Linked DNA regions of Homo sapiens: all the other regions are linked to region 4. The links are contacts of gene promoters, found by promoter capture Hi-C in blood cells and fetal thymus (Javierre and others, 2016). All regions are on one chromosome and are shown on one strand. The core of a region is centred on a gene start or on the middle of the fragment in contact, and the rest is flanking DNA. Distances in the headings are between cores, read along the strand shown.

Region 1 (3,414 bases), core at 536-3,035, 980 kb after region 4:
TTTGTTCTAAGGTCAACTTTAATTATAGTCACAAGAACTCTTTGGAAACTGAAGTCTTACTGCTCGCTTAAATTCTGGCAATATTTATGTAATATTAAATAAGAATTTATGAAATTTAAACTTTTCTAGTGTTTGCCATTGCCATTAGTGATCGATAATACAAACACAGACTTCTTTATGTATGTAATTGCTTTTTGTTGGCTATTATATAAAATAATCCTGAACAGGTATTTGTAGTGCTTCCTCTGACCCAGTGAAGGGCCCCCAAAATTCTCAAGAGATAAAAATATTGCCGTCTGAGTGCCAAGTGAGTTAGCTTATATAATAACAGTTGACTGTTTGTTTTCAATAGGAATATGATGAAGAATGGGCTAAGAAAATTCAGAGTGAAAAGTTTCGCTGGCATAACTCTCAGTGGCTGGAGATGGTAGAGAGTCGTCAGATGGATGAGAGTGAGCAGTACTTGTATGGTGATGATCGAATTGAGCCATACATTCATGAAGGAGATATTCTCGAAAGACCTGACCTTTTCTACAACTCAGGTGATAACCAAAGCGAAAGTAAACAGTTTATTATATGCTATGAATAGAGATTTTAGTCGGCCAGCCTTGCACATTCCCAAGCTTAATAAGCACTTCTTTTAGTTTATGAATGGTCTGCTAATGATTTTAGATGTAACGTCTATATATAATAAGCAAACCTATTAACTTACCATTTTTTTTTCCAAGTTAGTCTTTGATGGAATCTCCCTAAAACGCTGTAGCAAGGAAAATTAATTGTTCTTAGATGTTTATTAATTGCTAGAATGTGTAACTTAAATGGACAACTTCAAGATTTCTGACTTCCGTTCAAAAATGTAATATTCATTTTTCTTCTGCATTTATTAAATGCATAATTTATTCATCATTTGTTTTCCAAGGTATTTAATCTTAACAGTTTAATTTTGCCATGGTTTTGCTTTAGTTTCAAACTACCAAACTCTATATGGTAACTTTGGGGACGATTTAGGCACTTTAGAGTAATTGTTTATTCTTTCTAAACTATGCTAATGTTTTTAAGGTAAAATTTAATATTTATGTAAATCTTACATGTATTATAACCTTTTTGATTCTGCATTACTACCTTTTTCCAAGGATGAGTTTGACACAAAGATTGGTAAGTTTTTGCATATTCCAGCTCTCACTGTTTTGTACTGTTGCCAACATTAATATTACTTCATTGAAGTCATTTAGTTGAGGAGAGGAAGGAAAGGATTTCTATAATAATTAAAATCTCTAGCAAGTTGAAGATAAAAATCATTAAGGTGATTATATCTGAATTAGTGACTCACCTTATTTTCTACTATGTGTTTCTACTATGCATTTAGTGTTCTCAATATATGTTCTCTAAATATTTTGTGTATTATCTCATTTTATCTGAACAATTTGATCAATGATTGGATGATTATGTAAATTACTATTACATCTGATCACTGTACTCACATTAATAATACCACTCACACTTTCATTCATGTGTTTTCTTAATTGTGTATTGTGCAAATTTTCCATAGATATTATGTATTATTTTTTGTATTTGGTATAGATACTTAAATCATGGAAAACTTATGCTTTACTCTGAAAATCAAATAGATTTCTTCCTAACTGAACTTTACAGTAGTTAAGAAATGCTGCTTTGTGTTTCAAACCAGATGGAGTAGATCATTAATTTCAACCAAACAGAATTTCTTAGTTCAGTAATGGCAAACAGCTGTTCCTTACATATTCAGTATTCATGAAGTAAGATGATATAAAATATATATGATGTGAATTTTTTTAATAGAAATCAGAATATTCTTGGAATCAAGTTTCTTGCTTTGAAGATTGATAGCTAACTTTCATAATGAATCAATTACCAGTTTCCAAAACCAGATAAAGCTATTAACCACCTCAGTATTCATCATTGTTGTTTTAATACAATTAAAATTTCAAAACAGATTTCTAAACAGTTATACCACATTTCCAAAATTAATTTAAATTAACCTCTTAAAGTGAAAATCCTAAATATTTTTCTGATACTTTTTAATTACAATGTATAGGTTATGCTTTTGTGAGAAAACAGTTATGTATATTTTCATACACCAAAACTTAGAAACATTTAGGTTTTTTTAATCTATAGCCTGATGATATGATAGACATTTGACAGTAGAAATTACATGCTGTGAGTCTAAAACTAAATTTCTTATAGCAAGCAATTTTTTTTAGTTTAGTAATTATTTTACCTACATCATTTTCCATGGATAGTCCATGGACTAAATGAATCCCTGTAGCATTTCTTGATGTGTCTCATGGAAATCTAGATAATATCAGCCTCCTTTCCTTTATTGTGTATGATTGTAGCATCAGAAAACGTCAGATAAATTTGTACTCCTGCAGATTTGTTTGAATGCTTGAGCCATGTTTTTAAGCCTCTGCGTCTCCCTGAAAATTTAGGCTGTTTCTGATAAGAACAGCTTTAGCAGCTTTTCAGCCACAGAGGTTAAACTGAGAGGCTCGTAATTCCCTGGGTCTTATCTTTTACTTTAAAATGAAATGGCATGTGCTATTTTCTAGTCATTAGCATCATTCTCTGTATTTTCAGACGATTTAATAGTCAAATGTATATGATTCTCCCATGTTTTTTAAAAAAAAATCTTAGTATTATGTGAAATACAAAACTAGCATCTCCTTTAGTTACAGTATTTTTTACTTAGTCTAAAATTATTGTGATTGTAGTCATTAATTAATGTCCTTTGCTATTATGAAAATGAAGCTGTTTGCTTTAGTACTTTTACCCATAGAGGAAATATTTTGTCATTTATAAAGCCGTATTGCTACTACATATATCTAAATGACTTTTTATTTTTTAATTGTTCTTCATTAATTTTAGTGAATCTTAGTATGTGAATGTATTACTGGAATATGAAGCTTAAAATGGTTTGTTCTATCTCAGGAATATTGTAAAAAACATAGTTTTCATACTACCTATGTATTTCTGTGATGTGTCTTGTAAAGTATAGTCAAATAAATTATTAATAAGATTCATCATTTTAGTTATTTCTTTTTCTCATACTCTACACTATTGACATCTATTTTCTCCCATACCGTCACAATTTCACCTTTAGCTAGTTCACCAAAAAGCCCAATATTATATTTTCATTTGACTTTAAGAAATAAAAAGAGGTCGGGCATGGTGGCTCACAGCTCTAATGCCAGCACTTTGAGAGGCCAAGGCAGGAGGGTTGTTTGAGGCCAGGAGTTCAAGACTAGCCTGGTCAATGTAGTGAGACCTCGTCTCTACCAAAAAAAGAAAAGAAAAAGAAATTACCCAGGCATAGTGGCATGTGCCTGTAGTCCCAGCTACTCAGAAGGCTGAGGTGAGGGGATTACTTGAGTCTTA
Region 2 (3,933 bases), core at 553-3,052, 900 kb after region 4:
ATATATTCATTTATTAAAATATGTATATCAAATTTATTTTCTACATGGTTCGTACCAGTGATCACCAAAAACAAATTTCCTGTACCCATAAAATGTATTCTTTTAAATATATATTAAAATGTCTTCTTTAAAGCTTTTCTCAATTTCATGGACTTATTACTCACTATAAAATTGGAGCTCTGTGTATGAATATTATTGATCATGAGTTAAAAAGACATGAGCTTTGGCAAGAAGAACTCTCAAAGAAGAAGAAAGCTGATATCCTTTTAGAGTGGCATTTGAACCGTCTGTTGTCTTTTGCTTTAAGTTTTGGATGGGTGGGATGGTTTTGTTCTTTTTTCTTTTTTAAAAATTGTTAATTACATTACTTGGAAACAATGCAGGAGTGTGTTATTGAAGGTTAAGAAGTAGATTGAAACTATCAAAATGAATACAGTTTGATATTCACTTTTTGTCTCTTCACAACCTTTATTAGTTAATGAGGTAGAAGGAGCAGGTAATAGTTGTGTCGGGTAACTTAGTAGGTGAGCCTCTAAGTGGTTACATCATTACATCCACTAAGATCCTTTGGTTAGTTGAAGCCTGGCCCACCACTGCTGCTTATATACTTCTGTGTGAGTACTAAGGTGACTTTGATTAGAATGGGTGTAAATTTGGTGATGAACCTAGTTAAAGGTTCTATTTTTCTAGGAAAGTGCAAAAATACTGTTGTTAATAAATAAAAATTTGAAAGGCCTATAGAATAATAGAACCTGTGAAAGGAAACTTAGGTATCTGTTTTAACCTATCTTACAAATATAAAAATATTTCTGCAACTTCCCTGGCAAATGCTATTACATAGGCTCCTCTTTAACAATGTCAGTGTTTATTTATTTCACCCATTCTGTGGTTTAGCATTCTGTTTATTATAATAGTCTTTTGCTTAGTGCACTGAAGTCCATTCCCCAATAACTTCTATCCATTGGTTCTAGTATTGTATACTAAAGCAATATGGAATAAGGCTATTCTCTTCAACATCATAATTCTTCTCATATTTGAAGATATTTATCATATTTTAGCCTCTAAACTCAATGCTTCTAGATCAAAGGCCCCTGGTTTATTCATATCTGTTCAACCATGATATGTTTTGCAGATCAACTAGGCATGCTGGTAACTTTCCTTTGAATCAAGTGTTTATTATGTCTTTTAAAAAGTGAAAACTTTATTCCTATTTTGCAGAATATCATACATTTTTAACTCTGCTTTGTGCAAAAGTGGACCTTACTTTTATATTAATTTTGGCCTCTGGAAACCCTGAGGCTTCAATTTAATCTATGTTGTAACAGGTTAATTCAGGTTATTGTGTACAAAATCTCTCAGGCTTTTACTGTTGTCACATGGAACTCCAAGACACTATAAAATCCACACCCACACACAAGCTTTGACTTTTCTTAATTAGAATCTTTTCAGGTTTATAAATTTTCTATGCATACCATAAACTTCTGGCATCTAGATTGATAGTGACTCAACTACATCAACAACCCAAGAATCCTAGAGACTTTACATCAGTTCTGGAGTCACAAGACTCCTGAATGCTTCAGTGGTACCCAAAATTTATTTAAACTGGAGAAGTATGGAGGGAACCACTAGTGGAACTCTTTAGCAATCATGAATTTGCATTTTGTTATTGTTTGGTGACAAGAACTGATATCTTAGGACATATTGTATTTCTGTATCAGACACCATTAATTTTAAGATTCACTATTGTTTAAGTGCGAGGAGAGGAACATATGCTTTCAATTAAACTATGACACATCAGGGATTATAAGACACATCCAGTTTTGGAGATGTTAAGATGTGAGGAAAATGTATCTTAGACTCAACAGATTATGGTAATTGAAGGGATATAAAAATGACATCAGAATTCTGGTCATTTCTCCTGACATGTTGCTATTTTATTATGTCCTAAATTTCTTTGTATTTTGATACAAGTGGTATTCAACAAGGTCAGCTGCATTGACTCATATTCTGGGGTCATATGCTTGACTCATATGCTTGGGGATACTGAAGTAACTGATTATTTTTGCAAGAAGTCCAGAGGACGATTTGGGACCAGAAGATGTGATTTTTAAAATTTGTTTACCTTTAAGTTTGGGTTAGTTCTTTCTTGGCATCTCTAGTCTGAAAAGGCTGCTACAAAAGCTTTAGATTTAATCTATATCCTTTGAATATTCTGGGCATCTGTCTGAAGTAAAATCCAGTGTTCTTAGTAACTAAATCACTTTCTGAGGCAGTAATTTTTTTGGTTCGTGGACCCACTTGATAATCTGTTGAAAGTTATAGACTTGTGCACCTATATAAAATATTCACATATAGTTTCTGGGAATTCAAGTATTTGGTGAGGTTCAAATATCTATATGATGTTAGCTGTGGGCTACATAAAAAAGTTTGTTCACCCAAAGACTCCCAGGGAATCCATGAGCACTTAAATAAGAAGTGCTGTTACAGCACAGTTATTATGCAGATAACATTTTAGTTAAACTTTTGGTGAGAAAAATAACTGGATAAAGTTGCACATAAAATTTAATAGTGCCATTGTTCATAGAATTTATCAGTAGATTTTTTTTGCTTCAATGAGTATGGATGATCCTTAACAAGTTGTTTACTTGATGAAGACCCTGAAAACCAAACCTTGAGAAAGGATTATGAAAAAACCTTTAAAAAGTACCAGGGGCTTGTGGTAAAACAGGAACAGCTATTACGAGGTATGAATTCCTAAGCAATGAGGAAAGCAACAAAGTACTTACTCCAAATACATTTGTTTTGTTCACTTTTTATCATACCTGTAAAGCTAATGTGAGAATAGCTGAAAGTTCTATAAATGTTAATATGCTACAAGTTCGTCTGTCTTTAGCATGGGTAATGTTTTAAATTTCACTCTACTATTTTTCCCCATTTAGTTCCTAAATGTTTGTATACTTATTATTTATTTCCTAAGAAAGGATTTTTTAATCCAGTGTGTGACCTTTTCAATAATATCAATCTTTGTCTCTTCAGCCCTAACTTACTTGTTTTATAAAGTGAATTATTTTGTTGCTTTCCTAGGAAATTGATATAAACATTTTAAAATATTTCTCTTGTTTAATAGAAAAGAATTCCTTGTCTCTAGCTTTATTAAGATATTTAAAACTTCAATAGTATGGTTTCTTGGTTACTGATAAGATGTAAAATCTTATGGTGGTTAGTGATAATGACATGGGGCTTTTAAGTGTGAATTTAAGTCCGGATTTATACTTGACTATTTGATGATTCATGTAGTTTATTGGTGTTTGACTAACTTTGTACATGGAAATACTTGTTAACTCCCAAAATATTTTCATCCTGTGAAGATTAGTAGCAATTTTAACTACACTGAGTTTTTTAAATATTTGAAGCCAAGTAATTTAGTTCAACCTGTTGGAGAAAATGTCAGATTTTCAAAGGTTCATTTTAAAATATGCTAGAAAATAATAGGTATTATCTGTGTTAGCATATAATCCAAAATGCATCAGATCTCAAGAAAGCAATTGTTTTCATGTAAAAGTTTCAAAGAACTAATTTGACTTTTTTAACATGCAAAACTTTAAGCTCTGTTTCTAACCAAATATTTATGCAAATATTGTATACTCTCTTAACAGCTTTATTGAGGTATAACTGATAGACAATAAACTGTATAGTTTTAAAGTATATAATTTGATAAATTTTAACATATGTAAATACCCATGAAATAATGACCATAATCAAGATAAGGTACATATCCATCACTCCCAAAATTTCCTCATGCATCTTTACAATCTCTCCCTTTCCTTCTTCCTTCTGCCTTCTTCCTCATTCCCAAGTCATCACTGATCTGCTTTCTGTCACTTTAGCTTAGTTTGCATTTTCTAGAGTTTTATATAAATGAAATCATATAGT
Region 3 (3,878 bases), core at 1,258-3,757, 990 kb after region 4:
CTCTCTGCTGAGAGCTGGACACTCATCAGGCCGCCTGCAGAAAGGAGCTACTACTTTGGGTCTCCTGAGAGCTGTTCTGTCACTCAATGGAGCTCCTCTTCCCCTTTGCTTACCCTCCAGTTGTCCACTTAACCTCATTCTTCCTGGATGGGAAACAAGAACCTGGGACCTGAATGGCAGGACTCAAAGAGCTGTAACACAAACGGGGCTGAAACACGTCGCCCCCACTCACCATGTTGTGGGAAACGAGAAGGAGGGAAGAGCTGTGGCTCTTCCAAGAGCCCAGACGTAGTTGCTCCTGAGCCAGGGATGTGACACCCTCTGTGGGGCTCTGCGGTTCCCAGTTTCTCCAGGTTTCTGGGCGCCTCTGTGTTTCCCTCATCCAGACGCAGTTGCTCAGAGCAGAAGCTGCGTGCGGTACATCTGGTCCATCTGCAGCCTCACACAGAGCCAGCACCTGTACCAGTGCCTGGAGCTAACCACCCTGCCATAGTAGCCAGTCAGCCAGCATGCCTGCTGTGCGTGGTGACCAGACCCTGCGCTTGGTCACCCACACAACCTCGCCGCTCCACACCTGGCTAACCCTTGGCAGGTGTGGGATCCAGGTTGGTAGCTCAAGCTGAGCACAGCCTATCGGGCCTAGTGGGCAGAACGAGCCCAGCGGGCGCAAACAATACTCAGGGAGAAGGTGCCGCCAGCCACAATGGTTTCTGGGTGGCAAAGCAACACCCCAAGGATCCTGTGACATTAGGACTTTGACTTAGTAGAAGAAATTCAGCATAATTGAGTCTATAAATTTAAAACGTAACCCGAATATGACTGGAACCTTTAAAAATGTTAACATGTCAATTATGGTACAGCTTTGTACTAGAAAAAATGACACAGAAGCCAATCCAGTTGTGTCTGGCAAGTTAATTATATCATCACCATTTAAGAGTGATTATCTAGTGTTAAACGTCATATACTTTTCACATGTATTGCATTTTTGTTGGCTTTACAGATAGAAATTAGTTGTAAATTTAAATGGAAAGAAAGAAAGTCTTTAAGCAAGGATGACGGTTCTTATGACATATTTGACCTAGAAATGCTCTTATTGTAAAAAACAAAAATGATTTTTAAGGTAATATAATGCAAATTACCGTCATAAAGGCTTGCTCCTTCATATTATAATGAGAATAACAAAATTGTATATAATTGGTTAATAAGCATCACTATTCCCCCTTAAAAAAATAAGGGAGAGAAATAGAGCATGTCATCTTTTATTTCCTTTAAATATGAGTGTAATGATATTGAGCTTACTCCTTAACTCAGGGATATTTTCTAATTTAAGGTAGATTTAATCTAGCCTATTGTTGTCTTGATTGATTTAACAATGTAATTTAACTATTTATGAACAGTTGTTAGATTTCTTATATTAGAAATATTAGATATTTTTTCTAAGATATTTGTTTTTTAAGAAACAGCTAAAACCTAGGGCCTACAGGTTTTCAAATGTAATTTTAAATGTAATATTAATTCCCATAATCTCCATATTGCCCATAGTCTTTACAGATGTGCTATTACAAATAGCTTACTCCTCAGATATGAGCCATATGGGCTCTGTAAACTGATTTGCACTTATTCTGAATAGGAATTATACAGATTGTAGATGAATTATTAAGTAAATTTATATTACCAAATAAATCTAAGAATAAAATATTAAGCTGTATTAAATGAGAAAGGAATCTGCAAATGAAGACCTACCTGCGTTAATAAGTTTAGTGGTTACCTTCTTGGTTTCAATCAAAAGAAATTAGTTTTTTGTTGTTGTGTTTTTTAAAGGGGTGGGGGGGGGCGTCTTTAAAACTGCTTACGGAAGTATCTAAGACAAAAACAAGGAAATATAATGTTATAAACTCAGCCAGTCCAAACCACTTGAACTGCTATGACAGCTCATAAAACTGAGAGTAGTTTTTAACTGGGCTCTGTTCTACATTGCCAAAGTGAATTTTCCTTGCAGGAAGTAGCCAGAGGGTTTATTTAGTTTCCAGTCCATGGCTTTGATCTTTCTGTACTGTCACATCTTGGGTTACATAGCCCTTTTTCACTGCAGTAAATCTGCAGCAGTTAATGAGAATAAAATTTCCTCCTTACTGATCACATTCTGTTGAATGCCAAACCACAGCCAACTGCATATTTGCAGAATTTCAGCTACAATGTATGAAAACAGCACAATCAGTTTAATCTTGTTTTCTTTGCAATTCATTTTATTGGGCTTTCTTCCTTTTCAAGTGACCTACTTTATCCAGTCAAGTGGTTGCAGGCCAAACTTGGAAGAAAGATTTAAAATGTGAATAAACTAAGAGGAGAAGGTGTGCAGGAGGTGGGCCAGGGGAGGGCAAGTGGAAGTCCGTCTGCACTGCCGTGAAGATTCCAAGACTCCATAAATTGAGTTTATTTTAATCCTTTTTAAAGACCAAGCCTTTTTTTCTTTTTTCTCCTCAAATAAAATAAAATGGTTTGTTATTTCTTTAGTTATTTTGTATGTTTAGTTTCAACATAAGTTTGTACTTACTGAGTTTATTTAATGAGTCATAACATTATTTTTCAGTTTTCATTATAGAGAAGACACCACAGTACTTAAGGAAATTTAAGGGAATTTCAAGGATTTCAAAAAATTGAAGTTTCACTTTATAAGAGCTCTTCTTAGAGTAAAAATAACATTGTTGTTAACACACACTATACCATCTTATCAAATGGGTCCTTACAAACATAAAGGAAATACTATGAATATGTTGAATAAATCAATAGAATTTCAAAATCACATTTAAGCAAGCTGAATTTTATACATTAATATGTGCATCCTCATAGTAAAGTACATAAAGAATCATATTTATTTTCTTTTTTGTTACAATGAAACCTCTCAATTGAGGCATTAATTACCTGATTCAGTTAATACAGGTTAAATATATTTTTTACTTACACCTCTTATCTTTTCTACTGCTTTGTTTTTGTGGTTGGCAACTGGAAGTTAGCAACTTCTTTGTCAAGAAATTCACCCTCAGGGGGCCATCTTGGGTGATAGTCATTGATAAATATATTTTATTGTATATTTATATTAGGTCAAATTTATATATGGAAATATGAAATTTTATAAAATAAATCAAAAAAGGAAATCAGCTTATATTTTCCCAGAAGATTGAAGTCACAGTTACTGTTTAGCCATCTAATTTCACAGAAAAAATTATTCTCATCCTCATAAAAATCAAAATGTTGAGATAAAGAAAAAATATGTAATATTTATTGATTTAGACAACTACCATAAAAGCAATAACCAAAAGTGTATTGAGAACTCAGAAGACTGTTTCTGAATTGGGGACAGTAAAGTCAGATCTCCTGATAAAAAGAGGATCCACTTTTGGGGAAATGCCTGTTGTTAGTTACCCCAATACAAGAGGAGGGTAAGAGGAGTGGTTTGAACATTTTAAAGGAAAGAGGTGCAGCACTCACAGGGCCTTTTCAGAAGGTATTAGGTATAATGTTAGAATGTTGAACTTTCAAAATGTAGCTTATACTCTTAGAATTGTTTTCAAATAGACCTATGTCTACTTAAATTGTAACATAATAGTTTGCATGTGAAAAAAAGATGAAGATGAAAACAGAATTTTAGACTTTATCTGAGGGCCTTTTCTATAGTTTGCTTCTTCGTTTCTTTGCAACTTTAAATCTGCCCAAAATTCTAACCTTGCAAGTCCACAGAAAGTTTCTTCATGAAGTAAACATTGTTTTCTTCAGTTTTTGTTGTCTTTAAACACACACACACACACACACACACACACACACACACACACACATAATTCTTAAACAAGTGCAACTGCTCAAAAGAATTTGTTTTGGGG
Region 4 (3,510 bases), core at 969-3,468:
GGAGATCGAGACCATCCCGGCTAAAACGGTGAAACCCCGTCTCTACTAAAAATACAAAAAAAATTAGCCGGGCGTAGTGGCGGGCGCCTGTAGTCCCAGCTACTTGGGAGGCTGAGGCAGGAGAATGGCGTGAACCCGGGAGGCGGAGCTTGCAGTGAGCCGAGATCCCGCCACTGCACTCCAGCCTGGGCGACAGAGCGAGACTCCGTCTCAAAAAAAAAAAAAAAAAAAAAAAATACTGATTATGATGCTGTGATCAGTGCAGAAATGAAGACTGTAATAATTATGAGTATTTCCTTTTAATTTTGTTCTGAATACATTTCTTTGTGTATATATTAGATACCAAATATTTTTTCTTTTCTTATTCTCTTATCACATAATACAAAATGCAATGACTTCATATTCTAGTATTTAAGTATTGTTAATGTTACATCATAGTGTTTAAGTTACAGGACATCAAGGAAGAGAGTAAACATCACTGAAGGACTTTATCTCCTCCTCTGAGAAGGGTTTAGTGCATTTTCAGTTGTATGCAGGACATATGTTGGAACAGGAATTAAAAGAAATTAAAGAATGTGTAAGCAGAAACTCAGTTGTATGTAAGAAAACCCAATTCCCCAGAGAAAGAGAAAGAGCTGGAGTCCTTTAAAATTAACTGCCTGTTTTTCTGTGGCTAGTGAGCCTTATCTCTCCTCCTTTCCCAGGCATTGTGAAGACCCTGTTTCTCTAGCTGTGCAGCTGCAAGGTCACTAGACAGATAAACTCAAGTCATAAAACATGTTTTTCCTTGAAAAGTAAGAAATGATGTAATGCATGTTTCAATTAATTGAATAACTGTCTTTGTTTCTCACTTCTGTAATATGCTTCCCCCTACACAGATCTCCCCCACCCCACGAAATGATTAAAAGATAACTCTTTGTTCAGGGCTCAGTCCTTTGGAGGTTAATCCAACTGGGCCGGTGCACCTAAATAATAAATATCCTTCTCAACCCCATCGGTCTCTCTGATTCCTTATCAATCCCACTACATTTCAACATGTTAAATGGAATTATGAGCTTCTTATTGACTTTATTTGGAGATTAACTATGGCTTAAGGATATGTATATGGGTGCCAAATTTTCAACGTGGGAACTCATTATGGTTAGTTAATATTACGTGTCAAACTGAGTGAGCCATAGGATGCCCAGATATCTGGTAAACATTATTTTGGGGTATGTCTGTGAGGGTATTTCCAGAAGAGATTAGCATTTAAATTGGTGTTCTGATGATAGGAGATGACACTCCCTAATGTGGGTCAACATCTTCCAATCCATTGAGGGCCTGAATAAAACAAGAAGGCAGAAGAATGCTTAGTTTTCTCTTTGCCTGACTACTTGACTTGGGACACAAATCTGCTGCCCTCGGTGCTCTGGTTCTCAGATCCTCAGAACCAGGCTGGAATTTTTATCATCAACTCTCTTGCTCTCAGGCCTTCAAACTGCACCATTGGATCTCCTGGGTCTCTGTCTTGCAGAAAGCAGAATCCAGGACTTCCTAGCTTCTATTATTGTGTAAACCAATACCTTATAATAAATATATTTATCTATATAGTTGTGGTTTCTCTCATCCTTACTAATAAGATAATCCTTACTAGTAAGGCATGAAGTTAGGAGATTAATGAATAAAGACAAATTCTTCCAATTGCCAACTTTGGCAAGATTTCTGGATGAGGGCCCATAGTAATGTAATTTTCTTTTTCTTTTCTTTTTTTTTTTTTTTTTTTTTTTTTTGTCTCACTCTGTTGCCAGGCTGGAGTGCAGTAGCATGATCTCGGCTCACTGCAACCTCCACCTCCCGAGTTCAAGTGATTCTCCTGCCTCAGCCTCCTGAGTAGCTGGGATTACAGGCACCCGCCACCACACCCAGCTAATTTTTGTATTTTTAGTAGAGATGGGGTTTCACCAAGTTGCCTAGGGTGGTCTCGACCTCCTGACCTCATGATCCGCCCACAGCCTCCCAAAGTGCTGGGATTACAGGTGTGAGCCACCATACCTGGGCCATAACGTAATTTTCTAATGTATTCATGGTTCTTTTTCTTAACAGAACAAAAATTAAGAAAAGTAGTCAGGATTAGAAAAAAAGACAAGCTTTTGAATGACAGAAATATTAATAGGAATTCACTTACATATTTGTAACTTCTCTGTAATCACGGTGAGACAAAGTAGTGAAGAGAAACTCTAGTATATTACCTCTTAGCCAAAGGTAAAATACTCTAGGTAGTTATCAACCAAGCAAATTCTTTGAAATGTTGACACTCGTCATGGCAACCATATGTTTCAAAGATTCCATTCTGGAATGAATGTGGTAGAATGTCCTGGCATGCCCAAGTGGCTACTAATGCTCACCTGTCATTATTGAGGGGTGGGTAAGTTTCTGGTTTCTATGTTACAAGCACTGAAAGATAGTTCTTCAGACCAACAGTCCAGTAGAAGCTGGGCAAAGGATAAGAATAGAAAATTCACAGAAAAGGAAAACTGAATGGCCAATAAATATTTTAAAAGATTTTTAATCTCACTTGAAGTTATGAAAATACAAACCATTAAAATATTATTTCCCAGCTAATAAGTTAAAAAGTACTAAAATACAAGTAAAAATTAAAAAAAGATAATTTCAAATATTGGCAAAGATAAAAGAAAGTTGAACTTTCTCACACGACTGGTGGGATTATAAATGGATATAACTAGTTTGTAGAGAAACTTGTCAAGTTCTAGCAAAACTGAAAATCTACAACCCAGAATTTCCAGTTCTAGGTCCATAGAGTGTATAAACATGTATACAACTGATGCACTGAGAGACATGAAGGATGTTTATTGTAGCACTTTTTATAATAGAGTTATTAAAATATAATTCACATACCATAAAATTTATCTTAAAGTATATAATTCAATCATTTTAAATATATTTACAGAGGTATACAACCATCATTACTATCTAATTTTAGAACATTTTCATTTAGAACAAGCTCCAAAGAAACCCTGTACCTGTTAGCAGACATTCACCCTCCCTCTCCCCCAAGTACCTGGCAACCACTAATCTTCTGTCTGCCTTCTGGACATTTTATGTAAATAGATTTATACAATATGTGACTTTTTATGATTAGACTGTTTGGATTTTTATTACTGAGTTGTGATTTTTTAATATGTTCTAGATGCTAGTCTCTTATCAGATACATAATTTGCAAATATTCCTCCTTTTCTATGGGCTGCCTTTACATTTTCTTGACAGTGTCTCTTGAAGCACAAAAGTTTTAAATTTAAGTGAAATTTAAATTTGCCATTCTTTTTCTTTTATTGCTTGTGTTTTTGGTATCATAACTAAAAAAAAAGAAAAAGACATTGCCTGCATTCCCTGGCCCAACTTCACAGAGATTAGATTTAGAACTTTTCTAAGAGTTTTGTAGTTTTTGCCTTACATTTAGGTCTTTGGTTCATTCTGAATTAGTTTTAGTATATAGTGTGAGGTAGAGGTCTA
Region 5 (3,457 bases), core at 571-3,070, 870 kb after region 4:
TCTGTGTGGTAGCATGTATCAGTACTTCATTCCTTTATATAGCTGCATAATATTTGCTGTGGTTTGGATATAGTTCGTTTCCACCAAAGCTCATGTTAAAACTTGGTCCCCCATTGTGGCAGTGTTGGGAGCTGGAGCCTGGGAGGTGTTTCAGTTTTGGGGGTGGATCCCTCATGAATGGCTTGGTGCTGTTCTTGCTGGAGTGAGTGAATTCTTGCTCTAGTGAGACTGGATTAGCTCTCTTGGGAATGGATTAGTTCCCTCTAGAGTTGGTTGTTATAAAGCCAGGAAGACCCTTGGGTATTCTCTTTTCTCACTTCCCCTTTGATCTTGTCCACTGTGTTATAATGAAGCACAAAAGCCCTCACTGGAAGCCAGAGTCATGCCCTTGAACTTCCCAGCCTGCGGAACTGTAAGCTAAATAAACCCCTTTTCCTTATAAATTACCTAGTCTCAGGTATTGTGTTATAGCAACATAAAATTGACTAATTCAGTATTCCATTTTATGGATATACCACATTTTGTTTGTTTATTGCTCATCTGGTGGTGGACATTTGGGTTGTTTCTACCTATTGGCTATTGGGAATAAAGCTGCTGTGAACATTACTGTACAAGTTTTTGTTTGAACACTTGTTTTGTATCTTTTGGTGTATACCTAGGCCTGGAATTGCCAGACCATATGGTAATTCTATGTTTAATTCATTGAGGAACCACTAAAGTGTTTTCCCTAGTGACTGCACCATTTTACATTCCCACCAGCAATGTATAAGAATTCAGTTTTCCGTATCCTCACTAACACCTGTTATTTTCTGTTCTGTAATTATTACTATACTAGTGGATATCAAATGGTATCTTATTTTGGTATTGATTTGCCTTTCCCTAATTACTAATGACATTGAGCTTTTCATGTGCTTCTTGGCCATTTGTCTTTATTCTTTGGGAAAAGGAGTTCTTTGTAATAGAACCTTGTCAGATACATGATTTACAGATACTTTGTCCCATTCTGTGGGTTTTCTTTGCACTATCTTGGTATGTAAAACTTTCATATGCAAACATTTTTAATTTTGGTGAAGTCTAATTTATTCTTTTGTTGCTCATGCTTTTGGCATCGTTATTTAAGAAACCACTGCTAAATCCAAGGTCATGAAGGTTTGTCCCTCTGTTTTCTTCTAAGAGTTTTACAGTTTTAGCTTTTACATTTAATATCCTTGATCCATCTCGAGTTAGTTATTGTCTATGGTATATGGCAAGGGTCCATCTTCATTCTTTTATATGTGACTATCTAGTTGTTCTGACATCATTTGTCAGAACAAATGTCAGAAAAGAACAATTGACTGTTCTTTTCCTCCATGAATGGTTTGGGCAATTTTTTTGAAAATTAAATGACCAAAAATGTTGGGGTTTATTCCTGCACTCTCAATTATATTTCATTGATCTATCTGTCCGTGTGCTAGTACCTCACTGTTTTGATTACTGAAGCTTTGTAGTGAGTTTTGAAATCCAGAAGTGTGAGTCCTCCAACTTTGTTGTTCTTTTTCAAGGTTGTTTCAGCTATTTAGGGTTCCTTATATTTCCATTTGAATTTTAGGGTTGGCTTTTTCATTTCTGCAAAAAAAGCTATTGAAACTTTGGGAATATAATGAATCTATAGATCACTTTGGGGAATATTGCCATCTTAACAATATTAAGTCCTTCAGTCCATGAACATGTGATTTCTTTTCATTTAGTTCATATTAATTTCTTTCAGCAACTTTTTGTTTTCAGTATACAGTTGTTCCTTGGTTACGTTTACTCCTGAGTATTTTATTCTTTTTGATGCTATTGGAAATGAAGTTTTCTAAATTTCCTTTTCATATTTTTCAGCTCCAATATGTAGAAAAACAGTGGATTTTTTTGGTGTGTTCTGATCTATTCTCCAACTTTGCTGAATTTATTAGCTCTAGCCAGTTTTTTGTGCCATTTTTAGAATTTTCTATATATAAGATTATGTCTTCTGCAGATAGAAATAATTTTACTTCTTCTTTTTCAATCTGGATGCCTTTTTATTTTTTTTTCCCATGCCTCATTGCTCTGGCTAGAATTTCCAGTACTATGTTGAATAGAAGTCAGGAAAGTGGATAAACATTCTTGTCTTGTTCCTGATCTTAGGGGGAAAGCTTTCATTCTTTCACCATTGAGTATGATATTGGCTGTAGATTTTTCATATATGCCCTTTATTATGTTAAGGGACTTTTCTTCTATTCCTAATTTATCAAGTACTTTTATCATGAAAAGATGTTGGGTTTTGTCAGATGCTTTTTTCTGCATCGATTGAGATAATCATGTACTTTTTTTCTTCATTCCATTAATGTGGTGTATTGTATTGAAATGCCCATGTGGCCATGTTGCGTGGTCCTTTTAATATACTCCTGTATTCTGTTTGCTAGTATTTTGAGGATTTTCACATCGACATTCATAAAGGGTATTGGTCTAAAGGTTTTCCTGTAGTGTCTTTGTCTTGCTTTGGTATCAGGGTAATGGTGGCCTCATGGAATGAATTAGGAAGTGTTTCCTCTACTGTTATATCTTTTGGAAGAGTTTGAGGGGTATTTATGTTAATTTGTCTTTAAATGCTTGGTAGAATTCACCAGTGAAGCCATCTGGTACTGGACTTGTTGAAAGGTTTATGATTACTGATTCAATCACCTTACTTCTAATTCTGTTCAGATTTTCTGTGTCTTTTGAGTCAGTTTTGGTAGTTTGTGTGTTTCTAGGAATTATTCTTTTTCATGTAGGTTATCCAATTTGTTGGTGTTCATATTATTCTCTTGTAATTTTTTAATCATCAAAAGAGCAGCAGTAATGTCCCACTTTCATTTCTGATTTTAGTAATTTGAGTCTCTTCTTTTCTTTTTTAGTCAGTCTAACTAAAAGTTTTCCAAAAATGTTTGTTGATCTTTTCAAAGAACTAACCTTTGGTTTCATTTTCTCTATTCTTTTTCTAGTCTCTGTTGCTGCTTTTTATTATTTCCTTCTGCTAGCTTGGGGTTTTGTTTGCTCTTCTTTTTCTAGCCCCTTAAGGTGTAAAATTAGGTTATTAATTCAAAATCTTTTATTTATTTTTTTAAATAGAGCGTCAGTATAGAGTGTCTTATTGTGGATCTGTTTGAGTTTATCTTTGAATTTCATTGAGCTTCTTGGATGTGTAAGTTTGTCTTTGGTCTAATTTGGGAAGTTTTTGACTGTTTTTTCTCCCAGTATTCTCTATGTTTCTTTCTTCCTCTCCTTTCATACCCTCATTATGCATATGTTGGTATACTAGATGGTGTTCCATAAGTCTCTTAGGTTCTGTTTATTTTTCTTCATTCTGTTTTCTTTCTGTGCCTCAAAATGGACAGTTTCATTTGACATATCTTCAAGTTTGCTGATTCTTTTCTCTCTCTGCTCAGATCTGCTGTTAAAAACCCTGTAGTGATTT
Region 6 (3,639 bases), core at 758-3,257, 940 kb after region 4:
ATTAATATGATCTAACTTTTAATTTACCAACAGCATCATAAAGAATGAAAAAATGAAACTTTATTTTGTGAAGAAAGCAACATTTTGCCTTTTCTGACTTATTAAAAACTGTTTGGAAATGGTCAGAATAATGATTTCCAAGCAAAATGAAGTGTTTTCCATTTTTTTGAAACTAGGTTGCCTTTATGATAGTTTCTTTAAGAAACTTAAAGTAGATTTTTTAAAAAATAAATTGGTTTGGTTGTTCTGTTTATTACCGAACTGTTATGGAATTTCACACATCTGTTTCAGAACACAACTCCTCATAGACTACTACACTGTTTCTCAATTTTAATAGGCCTCATTTATCCTATAAATAAACCTACATTTTCTTACCTGATCAAGTGAGCAAACAATAGGGGTCAGAAGTGGCAAACAGTTTAACAGAAAGCACATGTCTCGCCGTCAGGGTGAGGTAGACTCATATCAAGATTGCTTGAAGTTATTAATGGCAGTAAAATTTATGCTTCCTCCTGTTTTCCCAATTAAATCAAGAAGCCTTTTTTCTTAAGATTCTTCTGTCACCAGCTGGTTCCAATACTGTGTGTGTGTGAATATTGCCTAGGGTGTCTCCATTTCTAGATGGTAAAATTTGGCCAAAGCATATTAAGTCAATGATTTGGACATACAGGCTAGAAAGCAGTCATTGTTAAGGGCTTTATTTTGATCCTTATCATTTGTACCACAAGTATGTGTATTCTTTAGATCTTATTGCAAATAACTTGTATTCTATGGATGTAATAAAAATTCTACAGAAGACATAATAAAATAATTGAAGATATGATGAAAAATAAGCTGTGTGGCAAAATGTACAGTTGTACATACTAAAACAAATGAAAATCTATCAAAAATGTTCTATATAAGAGTACTCATTTAGTGACTATCTCTAAAAACAATGTTTAGCTTACTGGTAGATCTGCAATGTTAGTTTCTCATACTTTTAAAATTAAATAATTGGACATAAAAAATTACTTATCCGTGAACCACTGTACCTCAGAAACTATTGTTGTACTTAATGTTTTCATACTGATCTTTGTAACCTATAAATTATGTTATTTTTTCCCCTTAACTGTTGGTTAACAACTGTTGGTTTTTATCTGTTCATCTCAAATCTCGACTATAGACAAATATATTATAAAAGAGATCATCCAATGTAGTTACAGTCTTAAACATTGGTCTGTGCAAATTCAAGTTTAAACTAAGGCTATCTGTTTATATTGAGTATATATCTGCAGTATATGCTCTAATAAGTTAAGCATAAAATTATATGGAAACATGTATCAAAGATGTTCTGATATAGCTTCAATGTGTTTTTAGTCTATGTCAGTGTGTAGTTAACATGTTCAATAATTGTTGCAATTATCTTTTAAGTGGTGGTTTTCACCTGTGGCATTTTCACTGTATTGATAGAACTTTAGGGGCTCTCACTCCGTAATAAATGTAAAGACACCTGCAAATTTTGAAGCACGTTGTATTCATATAGACTTTCCAGGGGTAATATATCACCTTAATGCTATTCTATCCTAATATAGGTGTGCTTATATTCCCACTTCTATTATCTTTTCATGGAGCCTCTGTGACATCAAAGGGAGTGTTCCACTTTGAAAGAAGAAGACATAGAGTATAGAAGGGAATGAGAATCTGGCTAATAATGTGGCCCATAACTTGTGTTCTCACTTTGTTTTCACAGTGTTGGGCTGGATCTACTGCAGAAGCGGAAATTTGGCTTTTGAGTTCTCATGTTCAGAACTCGTATTTCTGCTTGACTGAACTGTGAATGAAAAATCCCAAGTGTCTTACAAAATTAGTAATTGAATGGTGTTTTTACTGATCACTTCACAGATGAAAAAACTGAAGACATTTTAAAATTCAAAACCCATCAGCATGTGTTTTGCCCTTTAATTGGCAGAAAATCGATTGTGAGAGCAGCCCAGAGAGCTGATAGTTTTTTCTCCTTCAGCTGCTCCAGCTGAACTACAGCTGTAAATTTCTTTAAAAAGAAAAAAAGATGCAATGTTTCTTATAAACTCTTGAATGTACTTTATAAGTGCAATAATTCCCACAAAATCAGTTACTGGAGTTAATGACCAGTTTGTTAAGGCATTAACTGCCCTCAGCTGGGAATGACCAATTTGAGGGGAATGGCTGCACAAATGCTAAGATAATTCAGTAACACTTTCAAATAATGATCCAGCTAATTAACGGTGAATTCCTGTGGAAATCCTATCGAAGTACTTATGACCTCTGCGTTTAATAGCCAGTGAGTTCATCATGATTCATGTTTATTACCATAAATACCAAAGGAATCATAATGACTAGGCCATTTTTTTTCTACCCTGCCCTTATTACTTGAACAGATTTAACTAATCCACCTCCAGTCATTAAGAACCTAGTTCTCAAGATACTCAGTCTTTTCACTGCCCTTGCTTAAAATTCACAGTCTTTGGTGCTGTGCCAGCATGCTGACTGTTGGCAGCCTGTTTTTACTTGGGATGCCGTTAGGGAATAATTGATGTCTTTATGTCTTAAAGGAGCCTTTTTGAAATGTCTACCATTTGTAGGATGTAGAGGAATCATAGCCGGTTAGCTACAGTTTATGGCTTCTAGTCATGAATTCTTACGAGAAAATCATACCCTCCAATCCTCATTTCTTGTAGGAATTCACTTAGGGTATATAAGATTTTTTTTCTTGAGCTTTATTTTGTAAGAACTCAGATGTTCTTTCTTTCAGTGAATGAAGAAGACTATTAGTTTACAATAAAAGATAAGCTCTTTATTTTACTTAGACCATTTAATCTCTCTAATAGCTGTTTATTGCTATGTGATCTGCAAATTAGCCTTTAAGTCGTAATATTAAATGTTGGCTGCCAAAGAGTCTTTACTTTCTTTGCAGACCTGTGTTTGAATAGATGAATTCAGGTTATTGCCAGACATCTTCCCCCTCCACGTACTCAATTTTGTTCTAAAATGCCTTGTCTTTTTGTTGTAGGTTCCAGATATCTGCTAGATGCCGTGAAGTTATAGGCTGCATTTTTATTAAGTATTGATTATTTATGTAATCATTTATGATTCAGTGAATAAGATACATATGGTTTATATACTGTAGTCTTCATATATTGAAATTATTTAGAAGAGAAAGAAAATATGTGATTTGTAACTGTAGGATAGAACTAGAATCATCAAGATAATATGTGGGTAACAAGACCGTTTATAAAATATTTACGTATTTTTCTGAATAAAAGGCCAAATGCCAGTTTATATCTTTTTCATTCCCTAATTACAAAAAGGGGGGGAATTAAATTTATAGTTATTTGTAAATCAGTTGTTTAAATTCTAGGGGAAACTTTACTCACATAAAATCCAGAAGACACATTAGCAACTTGGGTTAGAATATTATAGTCCCTTAGCTCTGTCATCACCTCCTTTCACACTGTTTCCTCAAGAAAAAAAAAAAGTGTGTGTGGTGTGTGTGTGTGTGTGTGTGTGTGTGTGTGTGTGTGTATATATATATATATATATCTGGTGAAGCACTAGTTGTAGTCCGATTTCTTTTGTTCAGTTGTGTTCAGCTAAAACATGGGGAAAACACCTCTGTCATAT
Region 7 (3,635 bases), core at 176-2,675, 950 kb after region 4:
TTAGGAAAAGCCATTTCTTCTCACAGCTCTCTTCTCCCAGAAAGGTAGTCACTGGATCACCTCTTACATATATGTTCTCTTTTTCCTAAAAGTGTGTTTTCTTATGTTAGTTTCTATTTCCTATTCTACCTTTCTTGTGGTCTTTTGGTATTTTTTTATTCTGTCTCTTTAAAATTACCAAATACCATCCCTCTGCATATACATAAACACGCACAAAGGTCTTTGAGGCATTCAAATGAGTCTTTTATTTTCTGTGTCTATGTTGTCATTCAGTTGTACTCTCAAAGGCTCATTTCCACTTTTCTACTGCCCCCTGCCCCCACTATCACAAACTGTCATCAGCAAACATGGAAATTTGGAAAAAGGACAAATTTATAGCATATCAAGGATTCATATGACTTGATTTAATAGCTTTCAGTATCCTTTCTGTGTATTTACATTTTGATACTCTAAATGAATTTGGATCAGGACATTTCAGTGAAAACTTTCTATGGTTTGACTTCACTAGGTGCTGCAGAAGATGATCTTGTTTTAGAAGTGGTTATAATGATTGGAACTGTATCCATGGATGACTCTTGTGCTGCATTGCTAGCCAAATCTGGCATAATCCCTGCACTCATTGAATTGCTAAATGGTAAATAACCTTAATTTATTTTTATGTTAATGTCTAAACAGCTTATTGATTTAAATATTTAAATATAAAATGCAGAGTCTGTAATCTGTTTTTCTCATTACATTAATTGTTTCATAGCAACTTATATAATCAAGAAAAATGAATTAAATATACTGCTAACTGGGATTGGATAGAGTAATATCAAAGATCTTTAGCTTTCAAAGTTAAGAATGTTGCTGTAAAGCAGTTCAGGACCAATTTTACAGAAGTACTCTCCTCACCAACCTTGAACAACCAATATAGTAGTCACAACTTAATCAAGGGGAATACATTCCAAGACCCCCAGCAGATGCCTGAAACTACAGATACTATCAAACCCTATATATACTTTTTTTTTCTAAACATACCAATGATAAAGTTTAATTTATAAATTAGGCACAGTAAGAGATTAACAACCATAATTAATAATAAAACAGAAAAATTATAACAGTATGCTTAGCATCACTACTCTTATACTTTGGAGCCATTATTAAATGAAATAAGGGTTACTTGAATACAAGCATTGCAATACTATGCTAGTGGACCTGATAACTGAGATGGCTACTAAGGGACTAATGGGCAGGTGGCATGTACATCCTGGATACACTGGACAAAGGGATGATTCATGTCTTGGATGGGATGGAGTGGAACAGTGGGAAATTACATCACACTATTCAGAATTGTGCATAATTTAAAACTTATGAATTATTTCTAGGATTTTTCATTTAATATTTTTGACCATGGTTGACTGCAGTTAACTAAAACCATGGAAAGAAAAACCACAGATAAGGGAGGACCACTGTATTATATCACTTCTTTTTGTTTGTTTGTTTGTTTTTGTTTTGACTTTTTGAGACATAGTTTTGCTCTTGTTGCCCAGGCTGGAGTGCAATGGCATGATCTCGGCTCACCACAACCTCCGCCTCCCGGGTTCAAGCGATTCTCCTGCCTCAGCCTCCTGAGTAGCTGGGATTACAGGCATGCGCCACCACACCCAGCTAATTTTGTATTTTTAGTAGAAATGGGGTTTCTCCATGTTGGTCAGGCTGGTCTTGAACTCCCGACCTCAGGTGATCCGCCCACCTCGGCCTCCCAAAGTGCTGAGATTACAGGCGTGAGCCACTGTGCCCGGCTATATCACTTCTTTCTGTTGAGATTTGTGTTGGTTTGAATTGGATCTCTTCTCTTGTGCAAATCTTATTTTTTAAAACTTGATTTCTAAGTTGGAAGGTCCATTTGGAAGCTGATTCTAAACATCATATTCCCTTCTAGATCCGAATTTATTGTCCTCTGAAATTTCTTAGTTGATGAAAATGTTCTATATATGTGGTGTCCAACACATGTAGCTGTAGAACACTTGAAATGTGGCTGTCACAACTGATAACCTGAATTTTTGAATTAATTTAATTAGCTGCAGTGGTTTATGGCTACAATATTTGACATTGCAGGCCTAGAGTTTTCCCCTTGCATTTATATTACTCTTAAGGGGCAGGGCTCATTCTTCTCCATATTGCATACAAAATTTATCTGAATCTTATTAGGGCCAAGTTCTCTAGGATCTTACACATCATAACTAGCGAATAGTATAGAAGTTAAAAATGCTAATATGAGATCCCTGAAGAAGATACTCTCATCTCAGTTCATCTTGTACTAGGCATAATATATGTGCATTTTGTGTTAATTTTAATAGACTTTTCAAATATGTAATAACATACATAAATTGTAAGTATAGCTCAATGTATTTTCAGTGTAAGCATACCCATGTTATTATCACTCATGTAAGAAAATAAAGCATTACCAGTACCTTAGAAGTGCCTCTTCTCCCTCCTCTCAGTCATTACCACCTCCTTCAAAGTGGTTAGTTTGAACAAAAGATAGTTTATTTTGTCACCACTAGATTAGTGTTGCTTGGTTTTGAACTTTAATATATAAGTGGAATCTAGTTTATTTTGTTCTACCTTATATTTGTGACATTCATCTATGTTGTATACAAAAGTTTGTTCATTTTCATTGTTATGTATAATATTTTATTATATAAACATACCACCATTTATCCTTTCTACTACTGATGGATAGTAGAGTTAGGTTTTTGTGGGGGGGAGGACTATTATAAATAATGCTCCTATGAATATTTTGAAACCTTTCATTTGGTGAACATATGTACTCATTTCCATTAGGTTCACACGTAGGAGTAGAATGGCTGGGTCACAGAGTTTGTATGTGTTTGGCCTTAGTAAACTATGCCAATCTGTAGTTCTGCTGGTTTTCATTCTTACCAGTAGTGTAAGAGAGCTGCAATTTTTCCACATCACCTCCAATACTGGGCATTGTCAGTCCTTTCAATTGTAGCCATCATACTGGTATTTCATTGTGATTTTAATTTGTATTTCCCTAATGACTAATGAAGTTCATCACCTGTTTATGTTTATTGATTATTTAGGGATAGCCAGTAAAAAGATGTGCCTATTTAAGCCTTTTGTGCATTTTTCTCTTTTGAGTTTTTTTAATTTAATTTGTAAGTTCCTTAATATAATTCATTTTAATAGGTCATCTAGAGATAATGCCCCATATTTGAAGTATTCCTTCCCAAAATTTTAGCATATTTGTATTTACTTTGGTACACTCTTCTCACAGTCAGTTTTCAGATCAGAAATAATTAAAAGAAAGACTAAGTAGTTGGGAGGTAAAAGTAAAGACACGTAGTTGATAGAGTGAGAATGAAGATTTTGTGGAGAGCTGAAGAAAGTTGAAGCAAAATGACCTGCATCCTGGAATTGCTGTCCCATAGTGATTATAATCAAGAGAGCTAAGATATTCATAAAGTGATCTGACACAGCCAGCTCAGAGTGTTTTACTATGTTTTGGTGTTCTCTGACATGAGATTATCACAGGCAGAGGCTTTATAATACTCTTTTTAAGAAATATACAGATTTTCAAGATTAAAACCATTGGTATTAAGTGAGGGAATACTGTATACCAAGAT

What was found. The method cuts DNA at HindIII sites, captures the fragments that hold promoters and counts their contacts. A CHiCAGO score of 5 or more calls a contact.
Region 1: a contact is called between a fragment that was not itself captured here and the fragment with the promoter of MROH9 in region 4, in 10 of 17 cell types (M2 macrophages, M1 macrophages, non-activated CD4 T cells and 7 more). The highest score is 11.8, in M2 macrophages.
Region 2: a fragment that was not itself captured here is called in contact with the fragment with the promoter of MROH9 in region 4 in 4 of 17 cell types (M1 macrophages, M0 macrophages, M2 macrophages and 1 more); the score reaches 6.3 in M1 macrophages.
Region 3: a fragment that was not itself captured here is called in contact with the fragment with the promoter of MROH9 in region 4 in 12 of 17 cell types (naive CD8 T cells, naive CD4 T cells, non-activated CD4 T cells and 9 more); the score reaches 16.6 in naive CD8 T cells.
Region 5: a fragment that was not itself captured here is called in contact with the fragment with the promoter of MROH9 in region 4 in 3 of 17 cell types (M1 macrophages, M2 macrophages and M0 macrophages); the score reaches 6.8 in M1 macrophages.
Region 6: a contact is called between a fragment that was not itself captured here and the fragment with the promoter of MROH9 in region 4, in 6 of 17 cell types (M0 macrophages, M1 macrophages, naive B cells and 3 more). The highest score is 7.3, in M0 macrophages.
Region 7: a contact is called between a fragment that was not itself captured here and the fragment with the promoter of MROH9 in region 4, in 1 of 17 cell types (total CD4 T cells). The highest score is 5.1, in total CD4 T cells.

The regions. Positions count from the first base shown.
Region 1 is chr1:169,958,174-169,961,587 of GRCh38, reverse strand. It overlaps KIFAP3 (kinesin associated protein 3), which reads left to right. Exons shown (of 20, transcript NM_014970.4): 18 at 353-542. It also overlaps the pseudogene RN7SL269P. Among named protein-coding and RNA genes, the nearest start is that of SCYL3, 66 kb to the right of the region's middle. The HindIII fragment of the contact is 2,319 bases long and covers 626-2,944 here.
Region 2 is chr1:170,030,697-170,034,629 of GRCh38, reverse strand. It overlaps KIFAP3 (kinesin associated protein 3), which reads left to right. Exons shown (of 20, transcript NM_014970.4): 7 at 134-258; 8 at 2,646-2,744. Among named protein-coding and RNA genes, the nearest start is that of KIFAP3, 42 kb to the left of the region's middle. The HindIII fragment of the contact is 763 bases long and covers 1,421-2,183 here.
Region 3 is chr1:169,940,867-169,944,744 of GRCh38, reverse strand. The region is part of intron 19 of KIFAP3 (kinesin associated protein 3); the gene reads left to right. Among named protein-coding and RNA genes, the nearest start is that of SCYL3, 49 kb to the right of the region's middle. RefSeq lists an enhancer at 807-3,490. The HindIII fragment of the contact is 5,755 bases long and covers 1-3,878 here.
Region 4 is chr1:170,934,242-170,937,751 of GRCh38, reverse strand. It overlaps MROH9 (maestro heat like repeat family member 9), which reads right to left and starts at 2,218. Exons shown (of 22, transcript NM_001163629.2): 1 at 2,165-2,218. The HindIII fragment of the contact is 7,245 bases long and covers 2,129-3,510 here.
Region 5 is chr1:170,068,432-170,071,888 of GRCh38, reverse strand. All of the region lies in intron 1 of KIFAP3 (kinesin associated protein 3), which reads left to right. Among named protein-coding and RNA genes, the nearest start is that of KIFAP3, 4.5 kb to the left of the region's middle. The HindIII fragment of the contact is 677 bases long and covers 1,482-2,158 here.
Region 6 is chr1:169,998,301-170,001,939 of GRCh38, reverse strand. The region is part of intron 10 of KIFAP3 (kinesin associated protein 3); the gene reads left to right. Among named protein-coding and RNA genes, the nearest start is that of KIFAP3, 75 kb to the left of the region's middle. The HindIII fragment of the contact is 5,762 bases long and covers 1-3,639 here.
Region 7 is chr1:169,978,971-169,982,605 of GRCh38, reverse strand. It overlaps KIFAP3 (kinesin associated protein 3), which reads left to right. Exons shown (of 20, transcript NM_014970.4): 15 at 509-634. Among named protein-coding and RNA genes, the nearest start is that of SCYL3, 87 kb to the right of the region's middle. The HindIII fragment of the contact is 8,043 bases long and covers 1-3,635 here.